Linked DNA regions of Homo sapiens: regions 1, 3, 4, 5, 6 and 7 are each linked to region 2. The links are contacts of gene promoters, found by promoter capture Hi-C in blood cells and fetal thymus (Javierre and others, 2016). All regions are on one chromosome and are shown on one strand. Each heading gives the region's core, a stretch centred on a gene start or on the middle of the fragment in contact. The rest is flanking DNA. Distances are from core to core; before and after follow the strand shown. Region 1 holds the start of HEBP2 (heme binding protein 2). Region 2 holds the start of VTA1 (vesicle trafficking 1). Region 3 overlaps SHPRH (SNF2 histone linker PHD RING helicase). Region 4 holds the start of EPM2A (EPM2A glucan phosphatase, laforin). Region 5 overlaps FBXO30 (F-box protein 30). Region 6 overlaps CCDC28A-AS1 (CCDC28A antisense RNA 1). Region 7 overlaps REPS1 (RALBP1 associated Eps domain containing 1).

The links. Contacts are between HindIII fragments. The CHiCAGO score rates a contact against its expected background, and 5 or more counts as called.
Region 1: the fragment with the promoter of HEBP2 here is called in contact with the fragment with the promoter of VTA1 in region 2 in 1 of 17 cell types (non-activated CD4 T cells); the score reaches 5.6 in non-activated CD4 T cells.
Region 3: a contact is called between a fragment that was not itself captured here and the fragment with the promoter of VTA1 in region 2, in 2 of 17 cell types (naive B cells and total B cells). The highest score is 8.8, in naive B cells.
Region 4: a contact is called between the fragment with the promoter of EPM2A here and the fragment with the promoter of VTA1 in region 2, in 3 of 17 cell types (total B cells, non-activated CD4 T cells and total CD8 T cells). The highest score is 14.8, in total B cells.
Region 5: a contact is called between a fragment that was not itself captured here and the fragment with the promoter of VTA1 in region 2, in 1 of 17 cell types (total B cells). The highest score is 5.3, in total B cells.
Region 6: a contact is called between a fragment that was not itself captured here and the fragment with the promoter of VTA1 in region 2, in 4 of 17 cell types (non-activated CD4 T cells, total CD8 T cells, fetal thymus and 1 more). The highest score is 10.9, in non-activated CD4 T cells.
Region 7: a contact is called between a fragment that was not itself captured here and the fragment with the promoter of VTA1 in region 2, in 1 of 17 cell types (total B cells). The highest score is 13.0, in total B cells.

Annotation. Positions count from the first base shown.
Region 1 is chr6:138,401,930-138,405,904 of GRCh38, reverse strand. HEBP2 (heme binding protein 2) reads right to left here and starts at 1,682. Exons shown (of 4, transcript NM_014320.3): 1 at 1,308-1,682; 2 at 625-760. The coding sequence starts at 1,409. It also overlaps the pseudogene MARCKSL1P2. RefSeq lists enhancers at 1,426-1,946, 2,468-2,988 and silencers at 1,217-2,066, 2,197-2,266. The HindIII fragment of the contact is 19,528 bases long and covers 1-3,975 here.
Region 2 is chr6:142,144,790-142,148,673 of GRCh38, reverse strand. It overlaps VTA1 (vesicle trafficking 1), which reads right to left and starts at 1,411. Exons shown (of 8, transcript NM_016485.5): 1 at 1,275-1,411. The coding sequence starts at 1,386. NMBR (neuromedin B receptor) reads left to right here and starts at 1,552. Exons shown (of 4, transcript NM_002511.4): 1 at 1,552-1,630. RefSeq lists enhancers at 710-1,230, 1,485-1,624, 1,388-1,682. The HindIII fragment of the contact is 1,973 bases long and covers 10-1,982 here.
Region 3 is chr6:145,957,593-145,961,665 of GRCh38, reverse strand. The region is part of intron 1 of SHPRH (SNF2 histone linker PHD RING helicase); the gene reads left to right. Among named protein-coding and RNA genes, the nearest start is that of SHPRH, 4.7 kb to the left of the region's middle. The HindIII fragment of the contact is 5,758 bases long and covers 1-4,073 here.
Region 4 is chr6:145,733,612-145,737,645 of GRCh38, reverse strand. EPM2A (EPM2A glucan phosphatase, laforin) reads left to right here and starts at 2,126. Exons shown (of 4, transcript NM_005670.4): 1 at 2,126-2,448. The coding sequence starts at 2,148. It overlaps EPM2A-DT (EPM2A divergent transcript), which reads right to left and starts at 2,777. Exons shown (of 3, transcript NR_038246.1): 1 at 2,726-2,777. RefSeq lists enhancers at 1,712-1,761, 1,782-1,831, 1,842-1,901 and a silencer at 2,062-2,651. The HindIII fragment of the contact is 8,125 bases long and covers 820-4,034 here.
Region 5 is chr6:145,807,456-145,811,811 of GRCh38, reverse strand. All of the region lies in intron 1 of FBXO30 (F-box protein 30), which reads left to right. All of the region lies in intron 1 of EPM2A-DT (EPM2A divergent transcript), which reads right to left. Among named protein-coding and RNA genes, the nearest start is that of FBXO30, 5.2 kb to the left of the region's middle. The HindIII fragment of the contact is 245 bases long and covers 2,216-2,460 here.
Region 6 is chr6:138,764,952-138,768,837 of GRCh38, reverse strand. The region is part of intron 1 of CCDC28A-AS1 (CCDC28A antisense RNA 1); the gene reads left to right. Among named protein-coding and RNA genes, the nearest start is that of CCDC28A-AS1, 6.8 kb to the left of the region's middle. RefSeq lists an enhancer at 93-152. The HindIII fragment of the contact is 730 bases long and covers 1,818-2,547 here.
Region 7 is chr6:138,983,169-138,987,289 of GRCh38, reverse strand. The region is part of intron 1 of REPS1 (RALBP1 associated Eps domain containing 1); the gene reads left to right. Among named protein-coding and RNA genes, the nearest start is that of REPS1, 3.0 kb to the left of the region's middle. The HindIII fragment of the contact is 4,162 bases long and covers 645-4,121 here.

The sequences.
Region 1 (3,975 bases), core at 433-2,932, 3.7 Mb after region 2:
TTTTGATCTGGGTTCCTTGATTTACTTCACATTGTTGACATATTTACCTTTAAGATAATTTTCATCTTAAAACAGTAAGGCCAAAATTACTCAATTGCTCACTGCCCACATTAAACCACTTTCTGTAATACTGATATTCTGGGTTAATAAATTCTTAATTTTTAGAGATAAAAGGGGAAATTAGAGATTACATGGTCAGTAAATTATTTTTTCTTACCATTCAGAAAATGAGGTCCCACAGGCTAAGAGACCTGCTAAAATATAAATAGCAGCAAAGCCAGACCAAAAGCTATGACTTGATGCTTCTAATCTTGGTACCTTCTTGCCTCCTGACGTCTCTGATCCTACCAGTCACCAAATTATCTTGAGGTGTTAGCCATAGAAAAGGACTTATCACGAGTTACACCAAACCCCAGTTCATCCAGCAAAATCAGAGAACAGAGGTTGAAAAGTAATACCCAGTGTAACCCTGGTCCTGAGGAGTCTTGTCTGAAAACAAGACAAGTCTTTGATGACTTGCTTATTTTTCCATTATAAAGGATATTTCTTTAATAAGCTAAAACTCAATAATAAGCCCGGGGACTCTTTCACAATATGCATAATTACAAGGAAAACTGCTTTTACCTTTCTCGTTTTTGCCTTGAATGTAGCTGTTCAGTTTCGTAAAGCCCGTCTGGATGGCTGAATCCCAGTCCATAGACTCCACGGACGTGCTGACCCACTTGGCTGGTCCATAGTGTCGGATCTCATAACTTCCGGGCTAAAGTGGAACAGAGAAAACTTCGAGAAGCAATTCTAAGAGGGTAGGAGTGAGATGCAAAAATACCGGTGCCATGATCTCGGGTCGACCTGGAGCCGTCCTGTCTAGGGGCTGCACCGCCCCGGGGTCCGGCCTGAGGTCCCCGCTCCTTAGGTCTGGGAGGTTCCCCTCCACGAGGTTCCCCTCCTTGCGATTAGGGACCGCAGCGGCCCCAACCCCACACGCTGGGGACTCGATTCACACTTTCAGACAAGCATCTATTACACCCCCTCGGTTCGGAGGGTTCCACCGCGCGTTCTGGGACGTAACCAGTTCCTCCCCGCCCCACCACCCCGCAAAGACAAGAAATTGAGATGGGACCTGCACTGGGGGTAGCGGGGAGGGTAGAGCTAAATGACCGGGGTTTCTCGTTTGCGTAGCATAGTGGGTAGGGACTGGGACCATTTAAAAAACTGTACTTTTTACTTAACTCTATGGGACCCGCTGGCCTCACTGCAAATCAGCCGGAAGGCGGGCCCAGCCCCTCCGCTCCCGAGTCGGCGCCTACCTGGGGGCCGGCGTCCTCCGGGGCCTTCCAGCCCGGCGTCTCCACAGCTTGGGCCGCCGCGTCCTCGGCCGCCCCGGGGTCTGGCTGGAGCGGCTCGGCCATGGGCGGCGCTGACGCTCTGGGAGCCTGGTCAGCCGCGCAGAGGCCCCGCACCCCGGGCCGCCCCGCCTGCGTGTGCGCGCCCCGCCGAGGCCCCGAGTCCCCGCTCCGCAGACCCGGTCCCTCCTCCCGGCCGGGCTGGAGACCCGAGCCCACCCGATGCGTCTGCCTCTGGACCGCGAGGGGGCGCCGCCACCAAGGCGGGGCCGGCTCACGACCCCGGACAGCTCCGGCCGGAGTTGCGCGTCCTGCCCCCGCCCCTCCGCGGCGACAGGGAGCCGCACCTCGCTTCGGCCCGCCTTCTTTTGAGGCACTTCCGCCCCCGCCCCGCCTTTGTTTTTGAAGGAAAGGCACACACAGGTGGCCCCGCGGGCAGTAGGGGGTGGCGCTGTTTCTGTGCAACCGGTTTGGGAACCTCTGCCGCGGCCCCGCCCGCGCTGGGAACCGCGGGCGCTGAGCCGCCTCGAGGGTGTCCCAGCGCACCGCAGGCAGAGAAAGGCAGGAGGTGGCGGCTGGCGACCCGACCCCCGCGGCCCCTGCCCGCACTCCTGGGGCTCAGCCAGGGCGAATGGCCGTACTCATCCCAAGAAGTTGTCCTAGGTCCCAGACAGCTTTCAGGGTCCCTTGCGGAGGAGGTGGTGGGACCACAGACACATGGAGAGAATCTGGAACTGTTCTGGTTTCTGAACTTTTCCCCGACAGGACCCCAGACCCTCTGAGTCATCCCCGCAGGCTTAACGAGACTCGGGGAGAGTTAGTGCCGAGGCCAGACACTAGTGCTTTTCAAGAATTTTGGTTACCAGGGCTTTCCCGAGCCGAGTGGGGTGCGGCTCTGTTCCCCAGCACCCCCTTTCCGCCGGCCAGGCCGACTCCGCGTTACTGTCCCCTGCGGCGGGGACCCGGCACGGCTCCGGCGCCCCCCAGAGGACTCCCATCGTGGGCAGCCAGAGCTCCGAGGCTCTCCGGGGCGACGTGACCGCCGCAGAGGCAGCAGGCACTCCCCACGCGAAAGCCAACGGACAGGAGGGTGGCCACGTGAAAAGCAATGGTGACATCCCCCAAGGGTGAAGGGGAGTAGGCCCCTGTGAACAGAAGAGGCAGCCGGGACCATTGGCAATGCCATGGAGCCAGCACCCCCTAGCCAGGGTGCTGAGGCCAAAGGGGAGGCTCCCTCCCTCGCAAGGAGACTTCCAAGAAGACGAAATTGCCTTTCAAGGCCAGGCACGGTGGCTCACGCCTGTAATCCCTTCATTTTGGGAGGCCAAGACAGGGGTGATCGCTTGAGCCCAGGAGTTCGAGACCAGACTGGGCAACATGGCGAAAACCCGTCTCTACAAAAATACAATAAAATAGCGTTGATAGTAGAGTGGAGAGCATAGCTGCCTTCCAAAAAAAAAAAAAAAAAAAAAAAAGCTGAGTGTGCTGGGGTTGTGATCTCAGCTACTCGGGAGGCTGAGGTGGGAGGATCGGCTTGAGCCTGGGGAGGTCGAAGCTGCAGTGAGCCGAGATTGCGCCACTGCACTCTAGCTTGGGTAACAGAGTGATACCCTGTCTAAAATAAATAAATAAATAAATAAATAAATAAATAAATAAATAAATAAATAATTATCTTTCAAGAAGGGTTTCTAAGAGCAGCTTGTCCTTCAAGAGAAATGGGAAGGAGGGTGGGGTGACTCTTCTGCCTCCTCACCTATGGAGGAAGAACAGGAGTGGGGGAAGATCAATGCCTGCAGCGACAAGGGCGCTGCCCAGGAAGGGAAGGCTGTTGCCACCCCTGAGAGCCAGGAGCCCCAGGCCAAGGGCGCAGAGGCAGTACTGCCTCAGAAGAAGAGGCAGGGCCCCAAGCTACAGAGCTGTCCACTCCCTCGGGGCGGAGAGTGGCCCTACACCAGCCCACGCTGAGCAGAATGAGTAGCTGGGTGGGCCAGGTGGGTGATCTCTAAGCTGCAAAAACTGCTGTTCTTGTGAGGTTACTGCCTGGACCTGGTGCCCTGGCTGCCCTCCTGTGCCCAGAAAGGAAGGGGCTATTGCATCCTACCAGCTACATTCCCTTTCCTTCTCTCCCTCCTGTGGATTCTCCAATCGGCCATGTGGCTTTCCTCGTAAGGCCAGTTGAAGACGGTCCCCCACAGCCTCCCAAGTTAGATTAGTGATATGAAATGTGCCTTTCCCTGGCCCTGCCTCCTTCCCTGTCCCCAGCCCTGCAGAAGGCAATTTTTGGTTTTCTTCCCCAATTCTTTTCCAAGTAGGTTTTGTTTACCCTACTCCCCAAATCCCTGAGCCAGAAGTTGGGTGCTTAAACTCCCAAACCTCGAGGGTCCGGCCTCCCCGCTGTTGAGTTTTTACTCTGGTGCTGTGCCTAGTGGCACCTGGGCCGGGCAGGGGGGCACTGCCCTGCCTAGGGTTCTATTCAAGTTCCAACCTTCAGCTTGTGAATCAACTGTGTCTCTTTTTTGACTCGGTAAGCACATGTTAGGCTTTGGGGCCAGGGAGAGGTCTGTAATGTGAAATAACTTCTTCTTGCCTTTTCTTCTCTCATTTTTATGAATAACTTTTAATGGCCAAACCC
Region 2 (3,884 bases), core at 162-2,661:
TCATAAGCTTTTAATACTCTATGTATGATAGACTCTATATTGTTGAAACTCTCTACCTCCATTGTATGTAAGCTCCAAAAATGCAGCAAATGTAGTCACAGCGCCTACTAATGCTTGATACAAAGGTAGCTCAATGAACACATACTGAATGAATATGGACCCTGCTTGAGGAAACTGAAGAACAAGTATAATAAAAATGATGCTGTAAAATTTGAACAAAATGAAGTAATGCACAGAGAATAATCAATTTGCTGCCCACAGAAGTGGTGACATTTGGGTTAGATCTTGAATCATGAGTTTGCCAAGTGCAAGAAAAAGGTGCACATTCCAAGAGAGTGGAAGATGGTAGGTCTGAAAAGGCCTTGCACATTTGAGAAACAGGGTACATTTGGAGTATGGCAGAGATAACAGTGACCAGATTTTAGCTAACCTTACAATATACACAACAATGGACGCATTATATCCAACTTCTCAACTCTAAATATCCTTTTCAGAATTATAATTGTCCAGTTACTTGTTTTATTTGCAGTAAAGTTAAGAGTACAGAATACAAAATAAAGTTAACACAGAATTACTGGCACTCCCTTTACTCACTACAAGTTTGAGCAGAGTTAACCTATATTTTTTTTAATCAAACTGTAAATTCAACGTATAACACTCAAAGTGAAAATACTGCTTTCAAAGGTCTCAACAGCGGGTATTATTCAAAGAAGTCAAAACTAAAAATTCTGCATGGTAGGAGAGAGCAGCTGGGTGGGGAAAGGTCAAATTCAACTGCTTATTTAGTAGCAGATACTCCCCATTTAACCAAATGAGTTTCTGATTGGGCTTGCATGCTGTCATAAATAATATTCACTTATTACTATGTTTTCAACTAGTCTATCGTCCTTTTATCCACATCACTCCTTCTTTCGGACACTCACCTTCGTTTTAAACCTAACTCAATTTATTTTCAGGATTCCTATTTGAGACAAGAAGCTCTTGTGTGTACACACACAGAGAAAACCTTGGAAGATTATATTCCACAGTTCAAGAGCCTGTGTAGTCAGTACTGGAGCATTTAAGCACAAGATAGGAGAAGCAGTGGACACCATGGTGTTTTGGGATTCCTACTGCCAGGGGGTGGGAACCCAGGGAGTTCCCTGGGTAGGCTCGAGGTCAAAGCTCAGGTTTAAAGCGAGGGGGGCGGGGCATGCCCCAAGAACCTCAGGGAGGTGTGTGGGCCCTAAAATGCAACTGGGAAAGAAAGGGCGCGGCCACTCGGAAAGACTCACAGTAATAAGCCACCACAGGGTCTCGCTTGTCATGCTCCTGAGCCGTCCTCAGATGATGCTGTATGCTCTTGAACTGTGCGGGGAGCGGGGGCAGCGGTGCAAGCGCGGCCATCTCTACTCCGAACTCACCACTTCCTACTCGCGCTCCACCGGCACTTCCGCTTCCGTCTGGGCGGTAGCGCGCACGAGCGTTCAGAGCAAATGCTGCCCACTCTTCCGTTGCTCAGCGACGTCAAGTCAACTACGGATCCCCAGCTGGGACAACCTCAGGGTGCTTGGCTCTCGGCGGTTAGAACCCACAGAAGACCCGAGCATTTTGGCGCTTATGCCGCGCATGGCGCTAGCGCTCTCTGCTGGTAGGAGGAAGGGTTTTTGTTTTGTTTTGCTTTTTTGTTTGGTTTGTTGTTTGTGGCAAAAGGAAGGATAGAAAAGGAAAAACAAGAAAATAATGTATGTTGACTGGGAGAAAGTATAAAGGCGAGAATTGCCTTTGGCGTCATTCAGGAATTACCACTTCCAGTTAATATGCCACATTAATATTCCATATAGCAGTGTCCTTTAGAAGCCTTTTTGATTTTAGAAACTTTAATTTCAATACTTGCATGAGAGAGAAATAATGTGTTTAAATTGTAAATTAAATTTTTCTATGTTGACATACTGGATAAAATAATCAGATTTCGCGCCAAATTAAGCTAAACATATGAAGCTTAAAGAAGATTGAACTTTTGTTCTCAGCTGGCTAGTACGTATTTTAGTGAATGAATAATCTGTAGATCACCTTTTTTTTTTCTGGAGAGTGATTAACAATTTGTAAAGTATTTTCATATTTATTATCTTGTCTTAATGTAAGATAGGGTGTTTGGGACGTTTTCAACGCTGGTAACTCTTAACCATTGTACAGTAGGCATCACTTTTCCTTCTACCCTCAATGACTTCAATTCTCTTCCTCTCCTCTCCATCCCTTACTTATATCTTTCAGGACTGTACACTTTATTTACTTCCTCCAATAACCTTCTTTATTTTATCTCAGTCCTCAGTTTTGACAATTCATCTTAAAACTAGTTTTCACTGAAATCACACTATCCCCAAGAGCCAAAATCTCCAGCTCGGAAATTCCCCTCTGCCTACTATTTTCTGATCACTCTCTCACCCCCAGAAGAAACCGCTCCATGTCCTCATATTATCCCACTCCACATACGTTGCCTAGACCTATTTGCAAAGTCCATCATCTTATTCTGGGTCGGGCTTTTTTACTCAGCCTGAAACTCAGTTCTGTCTTCTTCCCCAATCTCAGCGGCATATTTCCTACCACTGGAGAATGTATGGTTTCTTTCTCTTTCTCTTACTCCCACTATTTGGACTTTCCAGTCAAAAGTTGCTAGATTGGTAGAGAAATCAATGAAGAAAAGCAGAGTTGGATAACCATAACTGTTTTCTTTCTATACTCACAACTTTTCATTTATTTGTTTCCTATTACTTCTTGATTCTCAACCGCAGCTGCCCTTAAAGATCAACTTTAAAGCCCACTCCAGGCATTCTCACTTAATTGTTCTAGGTGGGATCCTAAATGTCAGTATCTTTAAAAGGTCCTCATGTAATTTTAATGTTACGTCTAGGGTTAAGGACCAGTGCTGTAGTCCACAGATGGTGTTTCAAACTTCTCTCGCTCTATTCAAGCTAGGCACTCAGCCCCAATTTCCTTGGTCTACAACAGCATTTCCTGCTATTGAGATTAAGGCCACCACCAGATATGAATTATTTTGCCTTGCCTCTACCACAACTTAAAGTAATAATAACTAGCTAGCAGCATTTGCTGAGCATCAACTATGTATCATGCATGTTTCTAGGGTCTTTATATTAATTTATTTAATTTGCACCACAACCCTATGAGGAACATATCATTATTATTTTACAGATGAGAAAAATAAGACACATAGAATCTAGATAACTTGCACTAGGTCACAGCCAGGAAGGATGAGTATTCCACATTAAAATCTAGGTATTTTGGTTTCAGAGCCTGTGCACCTAGCCATTACTACTTGACTATGATGTCTTTCTAGATCTTATGTTTTATCTTTTCTCTATTCCATCATCTTATGTCTGAGAAACAAATGTTCCTCTTCCTGGTAGAAGGCTGCACCCTCCTGTTACTCTCCTGATCTCCCCCTTCAGAAGTGAATTTTGCCACTCTTTCTCATTTGCATACATTCATGTGTACTCTTATTTGCATACCCTCATGAGCAGGACTGAGGGAAAAATAAGAAAGTGAAATGGTTGGAGTTGGATTTTACTCTCTGATCTGCCAACACATGCTCTTTTCTTTTCTTTCTTTTCTCCTTCCTTCCTTCTTTTTTTCTTTCTTTTTTTTTTTTTTTTTTTAGACAGGTTCTCACTCTGTCACCTAAGCTGGAGTGCAGCACACTATCAGAGCTCGCTGCAGTCTTGGACTCCTGGGCTCAAGGATCTTCTTGCCTCAGCCTCCTGAGTAACTGGGACCACAGGCACATAACACTATGGCTAATTATTATTATTTTGTTGCCTAGGCAGGTCTTGAACTCTTAGTCTCAAGTGATACTCCTGCCTCGGCCTCCCAAAGTGCTGAGATTACAG
Region 3 (4,073 bases), core at 363-2,862, 3.8 Mb before region 2:
CTGAAAGAATACATCTGAAGGAATGTGCAAATTATAATGGTGTACATAATTTAAAAGATACTGGATAGGTTTTACCAGAGAACAGAATAAATAGTTGAAGTAATGTTTTCTGGTTTGGTAATATGTCTGTTACAAAATTATTGTGGGAAACATGGCACATATTACTTCTCACATTCCATTGGCTAGGACTGGTCACAGGACCAAACCAAGCTGGGCAGTCATTTCTCAACTACTCTATACTTTGAGTGGAAATAAGTGGATTTTAGTTGGCAGCTGGTTATCCATAACAAGGTTTTTTGAACTTGGCTGCACCCTGGAATTTTTTAGGGATTCTAAAAAATAAAGGGAGTAGTGCCTGGGCCCTTCTCCAAGACATTCTGACTTAGTTGGCTCGACATCAGGATTTTTTTAAGTTCCCCTGGTGATTCTAATGTGCAGTCAAGTTTGAGAAGCACTAATCTGTGGTCCCCCATCCTGCGACATTACAGTTTGGTTATTGTGAAATGTGGTTTAGAGCAGGGGTCCCCACCCCTCAGGCCATGGACCGGTGCCAGTCCGTGGCCTGTTAGAACCGGGCTGCATTGCAGGAGGTGAGTTGCGGGCAAGCGAGCATTACCACCTGAGCTGTGCCTCCTGTCAGATCAACAGTCAGTAGATTACCATAAGAGCATGAATGCTATCGTGAACTGCATATGCGCAGGATCTAGGTTGTGCACTTCTTATTAAAACCTAATGCCTGATGATCTAAGGTGGAATAGTTTCATCCCTAAACAACCCCCTCTCCACTCCACCCCTCTCCTCCGGTCCATGGAAAACTTGTCTTCCATGAAACCCATTTATGGTACCAAAAAGGTTGGGAACTGCTGGTTTAGAGTGTTCTCAGGATGATGATAAGTAGCAACTACCATTTATGGAATACAGGCCAAATTTCTAGTACTGCTGTTGTACTTAAATTATTTCTAACCACAATCCTGCTATCATCCCCATTTTAGAGATGAGAAAATTGGCACAGAAGACTGGATAACTATTCCAATGCCACACAGTCAGTAAATGCCAAAGCTGGAATTAGAATGAATATAAGACTTCAAAGCATTGCATTCTCACCTTTAAGCCACATCGCTTTGCTAATGTGAGACTCTGCTAGACAGTTGCTTTTTGGGTTTTCAGAGTTAATGATTCCACAATAACCATGTTATTAATATTATTATGGTTAGTGTGATACATTGTGTAACTGGCCCAATTCCCTTCCAACACTCCCTCTACCCTTCCACCCCCCATATCCATGCTCTTTGCCATGTGCAGTTTCACCTAGTAAAGAGGTGTAGTATATTTCTTCACCACTTGACATTGGGTCCATGGATATGTCTTGCTTTGGTCTGTGGCACCTTAGTGGTTTTTAAGCACTTTGAAAACTACTTGTGTGATTGGATTTGCAGTAATACACCTCAACCATTGCCATAAAGAACATTCCTGAGTTACTTTGCTGATCCAAGGAGAGGGGATAGGAACTACATTAAGCAGAGCCAAACTGCTTTTCCAGAAACCTAGCCTAGATTAGCCTCCTTCAGCTAATGTGCAGATCTATGAGAATAAATGATTGCTATATCAAGGTATTGAGCTTTGAGGTAGTGTGTTACACAGCATGTTTGTGGCAGTAGTTAACTGATAAGCTACTATAGCATAACTTTTTAAAGTTCCTGCAGAGTGACCCACTTTCAGTATTCCAGCTTATGCTTTGAGGAAAACTGGACAAACATAAACACTTAGGAAATTAAGAGCTTTCTATATTATTCCACTAAGATAAGAGAGGATAAGATGCTTTAAAAGTAGTTGACCATAGCCAAGGATTGATTTTAATCCATCACCTGCACATTCATAAGTGAAGCACGGGCTAAGGGAATAGAATTCTCATGATTGACTTAAACAAGCACTGTCTGATACATAGACTTTTTGCAATTATGTGAATGCTCTATATTTGTGCTGTCCAGTACAGTAGCCACTAGTCACATAGCGCTACTGAGCACATGGGGCTAGTGAGACTGAAGAGCTGAGTTTATAACATTTAATTTTATTTATAGTCATGCATCACTTAATGATGGGGCTGTGTTTTGAGGAATGCATCATAGGCAAGTTTGTTGTGTGAACATCTTAAGAGTATACTTACACAAACCTAGGTGGTACCGCCAGCCTACTACACACCTAGGCTCTATGGTACAGCCTGCTGCTCCTAGGCTACAAACCTGTACAGTATATTCGGTACTGGATACTGTAGGCAGTTGTCACACCGTAGTATTTGTATATTTAAACATATTTAAATATAGAAAATGTACAATAAAGATATGGTATAAAAGATAAAAAATAGTACACCTTTGTGGGGTACTTAGCATGAATGCAGCTTATAACACTGAAGGTTGCTCTGGGTTAGTCAGGGAGTGAATGTGAAGGCCTGGGACATTACTGTACACTTCTGTAGACTTTGTAAACACTGTACACTTATGCTACACAAAGTTTATTAAAAAATAAAGTAATGCGGCTAGGCGCGGTGGCTCACGCCTGTAGTCCCAGCACTTTGGGAGGCTGAGGCATGCAGATCTTGAGTTCAGGAGTTCAAAACCATCCTGGCTAACACATGAAACCCCGTCTCTACTAAAAATACAAAAAAAAAGTTAGCTGGGCATAGTGGCAGGCGCCTGTAGTCCCAGCTACTCAGGAGGCTGAGGCAGGAGAATGGCATGAACCCAGGAGGTGGAGCTTGCAGTGAGCAGAGATCACGCCACTGCACTCCAGCTGGGCAACAGAGTGAGTCTCTATCTCAATAAATAAATAAATAAATAAATGCATTATGATGTTACAATGGCTATGATGTCACTAGTCCATAGGAATTTTTCAGCTCCCTTATGGAACCACTGTAATATTTGGTCCCTCATTGACCAAAATGTCATTATACAATGCATAACTGTATTGAAAGTTAAGTAGTCACATGCAGCCAATAACTACCTTATTGGATTTGCTTTGGCCAATAGTAGCTAGAAACTACTTCCTTGGAGGTGCCAAGGAAATCACTTCCTTTGAATCATAGGGCCACCTTGTTCCTAAATAAAGGTTCAGTCATCAGGGAAGGAGGATAGACCTTAGGCAGGTAAATAATGTCACTTTAGTTTCTTTTATGGTTATTGGTCTATTCATATTTTCCTTCTTGGGCCAGTTTTGTTCATTTGTATTTTGTTAGCAAAATTTTATCACTTTATAATTTATCATTTTATCTAGATTTTTCAGATTTATTGAATAAAGTTATACTTAATATTAAAATTTCTAAATCTCGTGCATCTTTTTGTTTTTGCTCTTTAAATCAACTTTATGATATAATTTATGTATAAGAAAATTCAATTTAAAGTATATAATTTGATGAGTTTTGACAGATGTATACTCTGCAATCATGTGTTGAACATTTATGTCACCCCAAAGCCTGCCTTCCTGCTCCTTTACTGTCAGTCACCTCTTTATACTTCCTTGCCCCTGGTAACCACTCATCTACTTTCTGCAATCAGGTTTTTGCCATTTCTAGAATTTCATGTAAATGGAATCATATAGTATATAGTCTTTCACATCTAGCTTTCTTCAGTTTAGCATAATGCTTTAACAGTTCATTCAGGTTATTTTACAGAAGTCTCTTTTTATCACAGAATAGTATTCCATTGTGTGACTATGCCACAATTTGTCCATTCACCAGTTGATGGACATTTGGGTTTTCTTCCAGTTTGGGGCTTTTAATAGTAAAGCTGTTAACATTCAAGTTTAAATTTTTGTGGATTTATGTTTTGATTTCTCTTGGATAAATACCTAAGAGAGGGATTACTAGGCTGCATAGTAAGTTATATTCAATTTTATTAGAAACTGATACTTTTCCAAAGTGACTGTGCTGTGTTCAAATGTTGGAGAGTTCAGTTCTGTTTGAGCCATACTCTCAGTGTTTTAAATTTTTGACTATTTTAGTATATGAATAGTGGCATCTCATTGTGATTTGTGGGTTGAATTTGTATTGCTTTAATGACTGATGCTGGTGAAAATATTTT
Region 4 (4,034 bases), core at 877-3,376, 3.6 Mb before region 2:
CATTGGACCCTTTTGTGCTGAAGTATCCTCACATCTAAAAATGGGGGTAACAATTGTAGTTACCTTATAGGATTGGTGAGAGACTTAAATAAGATAATATGAGTACGAAAACCATGTGCCTGGCCCATAATATAGGCTCAATGGATATTATCATGGTTAATACTTATACATCCAAATGACTGACCGTCAAAATATGATCAAGGCCTTGATATATGTCCCTTAAGCCCTATTTTGGTCTTGTTCTCCTTTCCAGTTGCATTTTACTTACTACACAGTGCAGCTATCCAATTTATACCTTATTTAAATCCTTGCCATAAAATAAGCTATTACAAATTTTGTTTAGGGGCTTAAGAGGGTTACTTCTTCCAATGGTTAAAATTATTTCAACCTCTTTATGATGAAAGAAGAGTAAAGGAAACAATGTCCGTTGAGCAAAGATATTGTTTAATTTTTCCGCTACTGTTTCTTCTACAGAATGGGCAGAACTCACTCTGGAAGAGCTGGTGGGAATAATGCCATTTGGGAAGCACACAACATAGGCAGCACAGTGGAGCACAAGAAAGTCCGGAGCTGTTAGCTCCCAGGTCCTGAAGGAATGAGAACTTTCACCGGAGTCTGGATTCCACTGTAGACAAAATCCTCTCTGCATCGCCAAATGACTCTTATTTTCCTAAACTTACTCTAAGAATATCTTTTAACAGCAATTTGAATAAACCGACTCACATGCCACTGTGATTTAATGTGTGATTTGCTGCCGAATCAGCTGTGTTTGGCCAGCCCTTCTGTCTTCACATTTTTCATAGTGTTTATCCTTAAGCTTAGCAACCAACCAAACTTCGAGTGGAATATCAACATTCAAGAGTAAAATGTATTATTAGTTTTCTAATTGTTCCACAAGAGATTGAGTTTGTGTAGTTTACATTTTTGCACTTTCTGTTTTACTTATATCCTCAACGCATGAAATTTTGGCCTGTTCCCCTTTACTATTCACAAACTTCCAAACACTGGTAAAAATGCCTTTGTGTGTCTTTAATTCACGTAACAGATTTGTGTTATGTTAAATGTTAGTGAATATATAAACCTAAGAATACAAGGATAATTTTGTTAAAGAATCAAAAAGTATCAGGACATTCGTTTGTCTTATGGCAGAGACAAATTGAAGTTCCCCACCAAGATATACGTATTTTGGATTTGGGCCAGACAGCTAAAAAACCTGTTTCAACTTAAAACCCAAAAAGGTTTTAAGTTGAAAAAATAATGCTGACTTTTGCTGAAAGTAAATTTTAAACAAAGGTTTTTTTTTTTAATTTACTCCATTAAAAATGCATACATTTGGACAGAGCGAGACTCTGTCTCAAAAAAAAAAAAAAAAGCATACATTTGTAGTCACAGAATTAGTTTTTGTTTTGACCTTGAAAAGGACTTGAAAGTATTTACTCCAAACTTACTTTACACATACTAAAAATATAGTTTTTGAAAAAAGAAAGTTGATGTGGCTTTTCAGACAAGGGAATGGTAGGTAATGTTTTGCATCAGCTCCGGGTCTTGGGTGATCTCCACCAATCAGAGATCCTTCAGAGCTCGTAGGGTCTAGAAAGATCATTATTTTACACCCTCATTTTACAGACAAAGAACCTGAGACCTGCTAGAGTAAGTGACTTGGTTAAGATAGGGAGCGCTCCAGAGACCAGGTCCAAGATCTTCCCCCGTTTCACAATTAGAAGGCGGCTGTCTAGAGGTCATTCCCTTCCTTATGATCCTCATAAAGTTAATTTCCAGTCTCTTGGAGAGAGAACTGGACGATCGCCTGGCTTAGAAGTTTTCCTCCCTCCCCGAACCCCGTTTTCTCTTCCATTTCTTCCGGTCGCGTGTCCCCAGCGCCCACAGGTGGAAATCAACCGCCCGCGGGGTTGCGGGGCACAAAGAGGCAGCTAGCGGCTCCGCTGACCCCTTCCCGCCGGCCTGGACGAAGTCTGGGCTCGGGAGCCGCGTGATGCATCCCAAAGAAGGCGCAGAACAGCACGTGTTCTCCCCGGTGCCCGGGGCTCCCACACCACCGCCCAATCGCTGCGGCCGCCTAGTGCTCGGGCCGCGCCTGCCGGCCGCGGGGACTCCGGGCCCGGGTATTCGCGCCGCCGCCGCCCGCCATGCGCTTCCGCTTTGGGGTGGTGGTGCCACCCGCCGTGGCCGGCGCCCGGCCGGAGCTGCTGGTGGTGGGGTCGCGGCCCGAGCTGGGGCGTTGGGAGCCGCGCGGTGCCGTCCGCCTGAGGCCGGCCGGCACCGCGGCGGGCGACGGGGCCCTGGCCCTGCAGGAGCCGGGCCTGTGGCTCGGGGAGGTGGAGCTGGCGGCCGAGGAGGCGGCGCAGGACGGGGCGGAGCCGGGCCGCGTGGACACGTTCTGGTACAAGTTCCTGAAGCGGGAGCCGGGAGGAGAGCTCTCCTGGGAAGGTATTGCCAGCAGACGCCTGCCCCCGGCGCAGAGCGGGAGCTCCGGCCCGCACCCCCAACCGGGGCCTCGGCCTCGGGCAGGCCCCGCAGGCCCCGGCGGCGCGCGTCCCGGGCTTTTTGCCCGCGTCCCTGCGCACTCCCCGGGCGACCTGGGCTGACCCTGCTCTGCCGGCCACGCTGTCGCCGCCAGCCGCGCCTCCGGCTTCCTACTGATTCCCTAGACCCGTATAGCGCTCCCGGCCGCCTTCCCGCCCACTCTGTTGCCTGCCCCTCTGACCTGGTTTCCGCACATCCAGTCCTCAGCTTCTTTCCAACCGCGCCTGCGTCACGGGCCAGTGCCCTTCGTCTCCCGCCCGGGGCTCCCTTCGCCCTCCGAGTGCCCCTCGACCTCCGAGTCCCCCCCTTCGCGGGTCCCTTGGCTGCCCGGCCGCGCGCCGCTGATGGCTTCAACAGCCCAACTCCGCCTTGGTTGGGTTTTGTGTCCTCATTTTCCTGCTCTAATTCACTAAAAAAAACCCAAAACGATCCAACCAACGAAACTAGCGTTTTCGCTAATCCTAGACAGCAATGTGCTACTTAGATTTTTTTCATAGATATTGAGAATGAACTAATGGAAAAACGTTGAATATTTCCCTTTTTGGATTTTTTTTTCTTTTTTAATCCCAGATATATGACAATTGAGACATGACCTGATTTCTTAAAATACTAAAACAATACATGCTGGTTGTAAAATAATAATAAAGAAATGTACATAGTGAAAACTTACAGTGTTTCCTCCACACATCTTAAGCACACTGCTTGTACACATTTATGTATGTGATATATGCATATACTTTTTTTTTTTACAAAAATTGTATAGTAATTCTGAATTTTTGCTTTTCTTGCCTAACAATATGTTAGGGACATCTTTCACTGTCACTACACGTAGATATGTATTTTACATGTAGATGTATATTTTAAATGGCAACAAATTATTCTGCATCTACCAATGTGCATTTAGGTTCTTTTCAGTTTTCCTCTGTCGTAAACAGTAGTGGCTTAATTGAAATTCCTTTTACAGATATCTTTGAACATTCGGGAGTGTTTCTGCAGAGTGGATTCAAAGAAGTGAAATTATTAGGTCAAAATGCAGTCATTTTTTTTAACACTTCATTAAAGACTGCTAAATTATGCCCTAAAAGGGTGATTATCTAATGTCGGCTCCCGCCAACAGTGTCTGAATTGAGACAGCTCCTTTCTTTAAAGGAAATGTGCAAGGTTGTAGACTGGAGTGGGTGTGACTCAATAGTTGAAGTCAATGAAATGAATGTCTCTTTAGAAGTTTATATGAAAAAAAAAATGGGCCATTTAGCCTGTAATGATGTAGAAACAAAGAATCAGTAAAGAAGATTAGAGTGGAATGTGTTTATATATTATCCTTGTTCTCCTTCTCTACCTCACTGGGCTTATGGTCTGGTAGCATTTATTGGTCTGTTATTTTACCATGACAGAATTGAAAGATACCCTCTTCAGTTTATCCTTTCTTTACAGAGTATTACTATTTTTCATAGTATTGTAGAATTATTTTTTAAAATAATATCTGATAA
Region 5 (4,356 bases), core at 1,089-3,588, 3.7 Mb before region 2:
TGGTTAATTAATTGAACAAATCTGTCTATAGTTTTATATCAGCCTTACATTGGAACAGTATATTACTGTTTTAAGTATATTTTATCTAATACCATGTTAATTGTAATACTAAGCTGTAGGCTGATAGCACTTCCTATTTTAAACTTACTTTTCTCACTCTCTACCCTAATCGGGCACCTTTGCATATGCAGACCTTAATCCCTTCCTTTCTTTTTGAACCCAGTGCTTCTATATTCATTATTTTTCCAGTAATTGATCTGCAGGGTTGATGAGGGAATTAAAATAGTGGAAAAATATAAGGTAAATGCTTCCTCCTATGTTTCTCATATTACTATTTAAGATTTTAAAACAGTGGAAGGTTGAAACTGACTTTCTTTGATTTGCTTTTTTTGATAGATGATTCGTCCTACTCCATATATAATGCCTGGAACATATTACTTATGTGCTTAACATGTGTTTGAGCACCATTGACTTTTTATGGCCAATACAATGAAGTAATTTTGATTCAGTTTGATTGATGCCAGATCTGTAAGGTATTTTTATGTGGAATATGTAGTTTTCTGTGAAATGAAGAATCTCATTTGTCCATTTCATTATTTTCTTATATTATAATTCTTCGTATATTTAATACAAATGAGTCTCTAATTGAGGCAGAATTTTGAATGTAGGGAACATAAGAATGAATGAGACTGAGATGATTCTGACTTTCATGGAGCTTATAGCTTTCCTGTGGAAATAGATATTATACAGAATGATGACTTACTTAGAGTTGTCACTAGTATTACCAAGGAAAAAGACAGTATGTAATGAGTACACACAATATGGGATCCATTACCTTGTCTTTGGAGTATGTGGAAAAGTAACAGGTAAGCCAAGACTTAGGGTTGAGGCAGCAGGGGCGTGTGGGGAGGAAAAGGGATGTGTGTCTGTGTCTGTGTGTTAGAGGTAGAGGCAGACATTAGGAACAGCCTGGAGGCAGCAGGTTATTTTGAATACATTAGATGACTCTTATATTTTAAAATCATGCTAATTTGCACTTCTTTATATTTACTTACCTCCTTATGTATTTTAATGAATTTTTTAAAAATGCTTTTTTGAGGGCAATATATTTATGCCTTTAATGACAAGATCTCATTTCATTATATGGGAAAATGCCATGTCTTAGAACTATTTTAATGAATTGCTTGTCAGCCACAGAGTATGAGTTGGCAAAGAACTTCTCTCAGAGAAAATTGAAAGAATTGAAAACATTTGATGATTTACTAATATTTTCTGGTCCAGCGAAACTTTTCCAACAATTTAAATTCAAATATAAATTATTAGAGATGTTAGTTGTTTTCTACTGTGCCTACTGTGTCACTGTTAACTGATAAATAAGAGATTGATGTTTTTAAACCTGTTTTACAGGATTTACAAGCAATTGCAAAATACTTTATAAAGGCATGTTTAATTTGATAGTAGTGGTCTTGATTAGGAAGAGGATGAATCTAGGAGAGTTTTAAATTCTGAAGCTGAGGATTCTATTCCCAGAATACTCTTGAGTATTGACTACTATATTTTCTTAACTTTTTTCTTAATATAGTTAATAGGAAAATGGAATTGAAATTCACTCCTCATTTGTATGGCTATTTTAATAATTGTTAAATTTAGTAATATAATGTTCCATACACTTATACTGAGCATTATCTATGTAAATTATTCTTCAAATAATTTAAAACATATATATTCAAAGCAGAGTAAAATGCTATTATAATTGGAAGGGACCAAAAGACTTTCTTGACCACAGGAGTGATTAAGTGTTGGGATAAACTACAAGCAAAGTTGTGTAATCTCCATTCTTCACATAACATCTTAACATTGGATCACCAGTTACAGAAGTGCTGCCTAAGTTTTTTAAACTTTTATAAGTAAACATACCTGTTATTGTCCATGGATGTTGATCAGACGTGGAGCTAGAACATACAGTCCTAGCTCTGCCACTTACTAGGTAGATGACCTTGGGCAGATCACTTGCTCTTTCTGAACCTCAGTTTCCTCCAGGTTGTTATAAAGATGTGTAAAGAAGGATAAAATAGGTACATAATTACTGTTCTCTCTTCCTTCTAAGTCTACTTCAGAAAATAATAAATGTTATGAACTTGTTGCTATGGATGCTTTTTTGAAACCTTATTCAAAGGGGGATGGGTAGTGTAAAAGAGACTATTTGTTTGAAGCTTGACTACTTTCCTTCTACCTTTGAAAATTATTGCTGTTTTTGCTTTTAACTCAGACCCTGTTGCAAGCAGTTGCTATTTTAAGCACTTTTGAATTAAGTGATGTTTTTAAGATATGTTTTGCCTGGTGATGTCATGTGATGGTGTGTACAGTAACATAAAGTGTCCCTAAAACTTCTGAGAGCACTGGTTACTTCTGGTGAAACTGCTTGTATTTTTAGGTTTCTCCCTTAGTAACAGTCAAGCTTGTAACCTTCAGCATGTGAGATCAACTCAGTCTAGTTCCTGCAAAATAAGAAAGCTACAGCTGTTTTCACAGTCTAATCACTCAGTAAGATTTGTCATAATTCTTAATAAAGTTTTTCTTTAAATGTCTGGTTAATTTACAAATGTTTGTTATTAGTCTTTTATTTCTATATGACTATTTTAGTATGTCTATTTATATATTTCTATACTTATGTCTAAAATTCATGAAGATAAACATTTAAAAGTATTCAACTCATAATTTGTAGTTTTTAACACAATTAAAAAATATAGGTTTGGCGTTGAATATATACCTTGTCTTTTCTTTGACATCATTGAACACCATAATATCAACTCGGAACTTTTCTACTGAATCAAGAAAAGCTCTGTTGATGATGATTCAGGTACACTTTTGTTATTTTAGTTTGAGAAAACTCATACCTCAACTGGAGAAAAAGATAATAGCAATTGAGGAGTGATTAATTAGTTACCTGGAGCCAAGATAGATTTTATGGAAAAATATGTCAGAGAGTTAATAATCTCTTACGCACTGAGGTGAAGAAAACAGGATAAGAATCACCTTCCTATCCAGAAAATTCTTGTCTACTACAATGTAATTTAATTTTGGAAATGTTGAACTGAGTTGCCTGTGCCATATACAAGTAGAAATATATCATAAGTAATCCATTGTAGAGAGTGAAGAGGAGTTTGAAAGAGGAATCTGGGCAGCATGTATAGACGGATTTTCAGCTTATGTATGGTAATTGAAACTTTTGGAGAAAATGAGAGCACCCAGGGAGAATGTACAGAATAAGCAAAAAATGACACAAGCCCTGAAGAAATGCAATATTTAAATAATTATTATTGAGTAATAGTTAAGAAGACTAAGGGTAGGAGAAAGACTGGAGTGACATCATGAAAAGTAAGAGGATGTAATAGTCCTAAAATAAGGGATTAGTCATCATCAGGATACAATGGCCAAGGAAGATGGGGTCTAGAAAAATATGCCTCCAGATTTAGTATTGAGGTTCTCAGCAGAGCAGTTTTAATAGGGGTAGTAAAAATGGGGCCAGAATAGAGAGTTAAAGAATATATAGGAAATTAGACGTTTTTTTTTGGTGGTTTTCAGTTTTTCTTTTGAAAGTTTGACTGGATAAGAAAAAAAAAATGGTGGTAAAGGGGGGATATTATGTTATTATTTCAATTATTATTATTATTTTTTGAGACAGAGCCTCACTCTGTCACCCAGGCTGGAATGCAGGGGTGCACAGTCATGGCTTACTGCAGCCTCAATCTCCTGGGCTCATTTGAGCCTCCTGCCTTGGCCTCCCAAGTAGTTGGGACTACAGGTGCATGTCACTATGCCTGGCTAATTTTTTTGTTTTTATTTTGTAGAGACAGGGTCTTGCTATGTTGTCCAGGCTGGTCTTGAACTCCAGGCCTCAAATGACCCTCCTATGTTGGCCTCCCAAAGTGCTGGGATTACAGGTTTGAGCCACCGTGACTATTATTTTAGTTTTTAAAGGTTAAATAATCTTTTAAAGTTTTTATTGCTAATAGGAAACACACCAGTAAAGAAGTTGATTATACTAAAAATACATTGAATAGGCTCAATAATTATAATTAAGTCAATATATTATGGTTAGACTTTTATTTTTCATATAAAACTTTTCTTTATAAAGGTTATGATGGAAATTTTAAAGCAGGGAAGACCATTAGACATCTATAATCCATTCATGTTATTTTATAGAACTATTTCTCTGCTTAAAATTCTCAGTGACTTCCAGTTGTAAAAGTGTGAACTCTTTGGAGCAGCATAAAGCACTCATCATGATTTGCCTTATTCCTTTCTGACCTCATCTCTTACAGATACCTGGCATTTTCCCCTGTGATCCAACAA
Region 6 (3,886 bases), core at 933-3,432, 3.4 Mb after region 2:
AGAGCTGTGCTATTGTAGATGAGCAAGCCTTTTGGGAACTGTTAATAGTGAAAGGAAGAACCACGTGGTGAAGAGCTGGGAGCCACCATTTATGGAGGAGCATGGTATGGTGTCATGGAAAGTGCACCAGACCGGGAGTTGGGGGAAACCCCATCTCTTGTCTACTCCAGGCTGTACACTTTTTTTTTTTTGAGACAGAGTCTCACTCTGTCACCAGGCTGGAGTGCAGTGGCAGAATCTTGGCTCACTGCAACCTCCGCCTCCCAAGTTCAAGCGATTCTCGTGCCTCAGCCTTCTGAATATCTGGGATTACAGGCAGGTGCCACCACACCCAGCTAATTTTTGTATTTTTAGTAAAGACGGGATTTTACCATGTTGGCCAGGAAGGTCTCCATCTCCTGACCTCGTGATCCCCCCGCCTCAGCCTCCCAAAGTGCTGGGATTACAGGCATGAGCCACTGTGCCCAGCCTCTAGGCTGTACATCTTAAGTATTAGTGAGAGGCCCAAAAATGAACACAGAGGCCCTTACCAATTTAAGTATTTTGTTGTTGTTGTTGTTGTTAATGGCTTTGGAAAAACAAGGGGCAAAATCAGACTTTAAAAGTTATATGGGCCAGGTGCGGTGGCTCATGCCTGTAATCCCAGCACTTTGGGAGGCTGAGGCAGGCGGATCACAAGGTCAAGAGATGGAGACCATCCTGGCCAACATGGTGAAACCGTGTCTCTACTAAAAATACAAAAATTAGCTGGGTGTGGTGGCACATGCCTGTAGTCCCAGCTACTCGGGAGGCTGAGGCAGGAGAATCGCTTGAACATGGGAGGCGGAGGTTGCAGTGAGCCGAGATTGTGCCACTGCACTCCAGCCTGGTGACAGTGCAAGACTCCATCTCAAAAAAAAAAAAAAAATAATAAGTTATATGGATAGACATTTACAACATTCCTACATATATGGTTTTTTATAAACTGCCTTCATCACTAGGCTATAACTTCCTTGAGGGCAAATATGTTTTATTTGATTTTTGTATCCTAAGCACATTGCAAAGAACATAACATAAAGTAGGTGCTCAATAAATGAGGTAGGAATGAATGAAACTTCCTGATTTTATTTCCGAAAGTAAAGTGATTCCAGCAACCCCTCTTTAAACCAAAGTAGGCCCAGTCATAATGCTAATCAGATGGCATCACTACTGCCCAGGCAAGTGCTCTTTTTTTCTTAGCAGAGCAATTCTGGCTACACCGGCCTTTCTGCCAAGTGGTTTGAAGAAGGAAACCATCCTAAAGCTTAGGGGAATCATTGACTGATTGGTTCTTTAAAAAACAAAACAAAACAAAAAAAAACGTAATATTTGGGATGGTTTCAGGTTATGATTCTACAAAATTTACTTTTAATCCAACTTCAAGTTCAGACTTCCTTTTTAAGGCCAAGAGTAAACAGGATTAGGGGATGGTTATCAGCAAGATAGGAAGATGATTCGTTCTCCCAGTATCCTGTATCCAGGTTCTTGGTTCTTGCCACATGAACACTCCAGCTTTAGAAGAAGGTTTGTGTTACAGACTTAACCAGACAGCAAAGGATATCATGGGTAAGCAGACTGGCAGTAGTGCATTACAACCCTTCCTTCAGTTTTCTCTCTTTTTCTTGAATTTTAGTCCAAATTCAGCAGTATTATCATGGAGAACCACAAGGCTGCTAAGAAATATGTGTAGAGATAGCTTACAATATAGCAGAGGAAGAGGAAGGAAGGGAGGCGAGAAAGAAGAAAGGAAAGAAGGAGAAGAAAGAGAGGGAAGGAGGAAGGGAAGCAAAGAAAAAGCTTCCATAACACTTCGTTTATATCTCTATTTTAAAGTATTTGTTTAAAACCCAAACTGCTACCACTCTGAATTTTAAGAAATTGGCATAATTCCTGTCAGTGGGGAAATATTAAATATAGGGGCAAGAGAAGGGATGAGACTCTAGGTAGAAGACCCATTGTGTTGTCTGAGAGTTGGATGTGCACAGGTGGGCAGGAGGCTGAGTTTAAGGATATGAGATTGAGAACATTGAATTATTCTGTATAATAAAGTTGGAAGAATTGTTCACTGGGGTGAGTTTGGGGGTTGGGATTATTGCTAAGAGATAGCCAAAAAAAAAAAGAGGTCAGAGGCAGAGGGAGAAAGGCCTGTCAAAGTGGTAGGAAGGAGGAAGACTTTAAAAAGAGAAAGTCTGTTATTCAATTTGCAACTGTTAATGTTACTGTAAATGCACACACTGACACACACACAGGCACACACATCCCCCATGCTCCCAGACAGCAACATAAGTCCTCTATAAGCTCACAGCTTGTCATGAATGAATCATTATGATAATCAAAGAAAAGGGGTTGTGTTCCACATCTTTGGGAGATTTCATGGAGATTGAAGATGAAATGTGTGTAACAATAAGGAAGTCCAAAAACTGAACTGTGTCAGATGAAGCAGGAGCTTAGACTAAGTCCAAGTTGAATGGGAAAATGACAAACCGCTCGAAGGAAGTAGGTCGTATACATCTTTATATTCTCAAAGCTTAGTATAGTGTCTGGCATGTAACAGAAACTTAACAAATGTTCATTAAATGAATGAATAAATGAGGAAAAATTAGATTCATATGATACCAAGTGGCAGAATGGCATTATTAAATCAAGTGTCAACATAACTCACATTTCTTATTCCAGAATTGGAAATCAGGTTCATCTTAGTCATACCTGCCTCTGATCTCCAGGTGGCAGTATTTTATCATATTAAATTGTTTTGAGACCACAGATTCCATTTACTTTTTGAGAAAGGAGAACAGAAATGTATTTAAAATAAAAATTCAATTCTGTAGCTCATTTCTATAATTGTACAGAACTAAGTAAGTGATAGAATATGATTACATGAGATTATAGATTTATTCCCCAATTTCAATATAAATGAGAATTATTGGTAGTTCCTGAATTCAACCAGTTTCCTAAACCTTGAAGGTAAATACAAATTGGTGTGCTTTGTTTACAAAATGTATGGATTTCTTCAAAGTATGAAAATCTGTGTGTGTGTGTGTTTGTGAGAGAGAGAGTGAGAAAGAGTGAGAGAGAGGAGAGAGAGAGACACAGGGACAGAAAGAGACAGAGAGCAGTAATATGTTTAGAAGTAATTCACTTCCAGGCCAAGCACGGTGGCTCATTCCTGTAATCCTAGCATTTTGGGAGGCTGAGATGGAAGCATCGCTTGAGCCCAGGAGTTCAAGACCAACCTGGGCAACACAGTGAGACCCTATTTTTTTTCATAAAGAAGTAATTAACTTTCAACAAACAGGGTAACCAGATTAAGTAGAATGGCCAGTCAAATCTAAGTTTCAGATAAACAAGGAATACTTTATTCATATGTCTCATGCAATATGTAGTGCATACACTAAAAAAGTCTTCCTTGTTTTTCTGAAATTCAGATTTAACTGAGAGATCTGTAATTTCCTTAGCTAAATCTGGCAACCTTACCAACAAATATTCTGTTGTTACTGTTAATTCCAAAATAACAGAACGTTAAGGGAGGCCCCACTTCTACCAAAAATAAAAAATTTAGCCTGACACAGTGGTGTGCACCTGTAGTTAACAGCGATTTGGGAGGCTGAGGCAGGAGGATTGCTTGAGCCCAGGCGTTCGAAGTGGTAGTGCACCATGATGGTGCCATTGCACTCCAGCCTAGGTGATAAGAGTGAGACTCTATCTCTAAATAAATAAACAAATAAATAAAACAAAACAGAACTTCAAGTCTGCAAGGCAAAAAATGGTGTTTCCTTATTTGGAGAGATAAAAAGGAATTAGCAGGCAGGGGCAGCTTTCTTGTAAGTCTAACTTGATTGCTTTTTGTGCTCTACCAGTTTGGAGTCAA
Region 7 (4,121 bases), core at 1,476-3,975, 3.2 Mb after region 2:
CCCCCACGACCCTGAGAATCTGTGCTCTGTACTGCAAGAGCTATCTCACTTGAAGGATCTTAGGTTGTTAATGTGTGTGAATCCTAGAACCTGGCATATAGAGAGCTTTTCGGATCCTGCAGAGTAGTAAAGTTATCAGTATGGGCAAAATGGTTTTTTTAATTCTTGGATTAACCGAGAAGACGTGATAAAGTGAGTTCTATAGATTTAGGAATCGAAGAAGCAGTTTTTTTAAAGGAAGCAAAATTCTTAGGGAAATTTTTTAAAATGTGAACTACTTAGTAGTTTTACAAGTAGGCATACAAGAAGTTGTAATTATCTGTAGAACGTGTGTATGTGATGAGACTGAACAATGTTTTTCAACAGGCATTCGAAAGCATTTGTGGAACTTGTGGATTTGGGTTGGGAGATGAGTATTGAACAGCTGGTAGGCAGAAGTGCGTTATTTGCCCTAATCTGAAGCCCTGGAGGAGCAAACCCTGTAGGTTTAAAGCCTTTTTTTATCATATCTGCTTTTGAAACAGAGGACTTCCTAGAAGTTCTTATCTAATGTATGTGGTGAGCATTAATGCTACTCTGTTTAATGATTCATAGCTGCTAGTAGGAGTCTGTCTAAACAGTATGTTAGGAACAGGTTTTAAGCTTTCATCTTTTATATTGATCCAAGCTAGTTATCCACATCTCCAAAATTTAAAGCCACATGTATAGGTGTATGTAGTGGACTGCAAAGCATTGGACCAGGGTTTTGAAGGCTGGGTCCTTGACCCTACTCTGCTGTTAACCAGCAGTGTGACTTTGGGTCAGGCACTTTCCATTTTCAAGCATAAGTATGTTCATCCACAGAATGAAGGCAAGTTTCTTCCAACAAAAATTCTGTGAAGAATAAAAATGTCCACACACAGGTCTCTGTTTTAGAAGTTAAGTCTGCATTAACTATGACTAAGTTGAACGAGTTCGATCTTTTTAAATGGTCTTGTGTTTTACATTGCTTTTTTAAAGGTGGGATGTCTTACGTGCCAGTGAAGGGCAACGAGGAGTCCCAAATTCATCCTGTTGAAAAGGGACAAATAGTAAATATTTTGGGCTTTGCTGGCCACATATGCTCTCTGTTGCATATTCTTCTTCTTGTGTTTACAAAACACAAAAATGTAAAGCCATTCTTAGCTCAGGGAGATACAAAACAAAGCCTGTGGTCTGCTAACGAAGGGTGCTGGTAGTGTGGTCTATGGTACTCTCCTGTTACAGCTTTGGAGTAGGACTTAGAGATCTGGTCAGAACATGCTCATTAATCATACTCTTTTTGCTCCTTTTGAAGAAATAACAAAGTATACCTTCAAGTTAGGATCTAAATAAAATTAAGGAAAAGCCTTCTCTGTTCTATTTTAGTTTGTCTTTGAGGTGAGAAAGAGTTGAAATAAAACTTTCAATCTTTTTAATGGGTACACAAAGACTTTAGAACTTGAAATGTAATTTTTAGGACAGACACATTAGCATTAATGAATCTTTACTTCAAACATGTTTAATTCAGTGCAAGTTATTTTTATGTTTTGCTCAATTTTATTAACATTCAAAAAATAAATTTCCATTGTCTTTTGGCATAAAGAGAGAGCTTAAATATTCAGGGTTCAGTTACAAGTTGGAACTCCCTGGAGCAGAACTCTTACAGTTATGTATACTAAATAGCAGTCTAGATATCTTGAAGGCAATTTACTTAAAAATTGGTCTAAGACATAGAAATATGAGACAAAAGGAGAATATGTGCTTAATTCCCTTAAGGGAGTTTGGGATTGTCTGAAAACACAGTCCTCCATTGCTTTCTAAGTGGGAAACATTTGGGGCAGCTCATATCTAATGCTTAGTTCTCTACTTAACACTGGGCTAGGCATTGCAGGCATCAGAAGAGGAGTAAGAAGCTCTTGAGGATCTTGTCAATTATAGGAGTGCTCATGTATAACATAAGGTATAATGTATGCCATAGGAGAGGTGCCAAGTGTTATGAAATGCTAAGGAGGTATGACCAAGAAAGGCTTTTTGACTTAATTCAGATGGACTTTAAATTAGGGTGGAGTGAGGGGAATGGAATTATGAGGGCTTCCAGGCAGAGAAAAGTGATCAGAAGTGGAAAGTGTAGGAGCCTTTTCAAGGACTAGTGTTTTCGGGATAACAGAATATAAAATTAGAAAGAGGCCATATTGGGAAAGACTCTGAAGAAGGGCAGCAGATAACGATATTTCAGCAAGCAATGGAGACCCATTGAAAAGTTTTTGACTTTGAGTGGCAGAAAGGGTAAGGAATGACACTCTTTCAGTGGTCTGGATTGGGTGCTAGGTCATGGACATCCAACCAGGGTGACAGCAGTAGAATAGAAAGGGAGAGACTGGATATGTTATTGAAGGACTGCTGGGTAGCCACTATATGAGGTGCTTTGTGGAATAATGTTTAATTGAGGCCAGATTATCAAGGTTGGATGGAGAGCTTTGAACTAATTGTGTAGGTAACAGGGAGTGGTAGATTTAAGAGAAATGACTCATAAAGCAGTGCTTTAGGAGTCGTTTGTCAGGGCCACAGGAATTAGAGGAATAAAACTGTAGACTTAACTTGGGGGCTGATTTTGTATGGCAGATACGAAGTGAGAAACTGGGCCAGTGGTACTCAAACATGGGAATGAAGGTGACAATGGGGAAGAGGCATTTGGCAGTGTCTAGAGACATTTTGATTGTCATAACTAGAGGGGAGAGAGCAGTTCTACTGGCATCTAGTGGGTAGAGGCCAGAAATGTTGCTAAACATCCTGCAGTGCACAGGACAGCCTCCACAAGCATTATGTGCCCAAGATGTCAATAGTGCTGAGACTGAGAAACCCTAACCTGGACTATAGTGGTGGGAGTGGGACAAAAAATCAGATATGGGCCGGGCACAGTGGCTCATGCCTGTAATCCCAGCACTTTGGGAGGCTGAGGCAGGTGGATCACCTGAGGTCAGGAGTTGGAGACCAACCTGGCCAACATGGTGAAACCCTTTCTGTACTAAAAATACAAAATTAGCCGCATGTGGTGGCGCATGCCTGTAATCCCAGCTACTCCAGAGGCTGAGGCAGGAGAATCACTTAGAACCTGGGAGGAGGAGGAGGTTGCAGTGAGCCAAGATCGCGCCACTGCACTCCAGCCTAGATGACAGAGCAAGACGCTGTCTCAAAAAAAAAAAAAAAAAAAGAGAGAGAGAGAGATGGTAGAGATTATGAAGGTAAACGTGATAGGCCTGGGTTATTTGGCAGTGTTTTGGTGAGAATACAGTGGGGCAAGGATTATTCTTTGGACACCACTCACAGTTAGAAAAGGGGCAGGAAGAGGGCTTACTTTTTAAAAGAGACAATGATGAGTTTGGTTTCAGACATTCTTAGATGGCAATTCAGATCTCTTGGAGACAGTGGGAAGTGGGTGGAGATTTGTCCACCCCAACTGCTGGTTCTTACAGCAGTTCAGGTTCAGAGGTTCGGGATTTCTTCCTCTGTTTTGCTCACCTAAGTGTTTAGGGACGGGAGACAGTGTCACATAGACTGGGCATGCACATACATATCAGGACCTTGGTTGGTACAGTAGTTTTCGGTGTTTGTTAGTAAAAGTTAGGAGGAGACTGAGTCATCTGGGGGCATGAGTGTAGAGAACAAATAACACCGAGTCCAGAACCAAACGAGGAAGGAGCTGGCATTTATCGAGTGCCTATTATGTTCCTTTAACCAGGCAAATCATTTTCATGGAAGAACTCATTTGATTCTTGCAACAACCTTGTGAAGTGGGTGTTATTCTTGTTTATTTTTATTTTTATTTTTATTTTTTGAGACAGTCTCTCGCTCTGTTGCCCAGGCTGGAGTGCAGTGGTGCAATCTCGGCTCACTGCAACCTCCACCTCCCAGGCTCAAGCGATTCTTCTGCCTCAGCCTCCTGGGTAGCTGGGACTACAGGCATGCGCCACCACCACACTCGGCTAATTTTTGTATTTTTAGTAGAGTCGGGGTTTCACCATATTGGCCAGGCTGGTCTTGAACTCCTGACCTTGTGATCTGCCCACTTCAGCCTCCCAGAGTGCTGGGATTACAGGCTTATTCTTGTTCACTAAGAACTT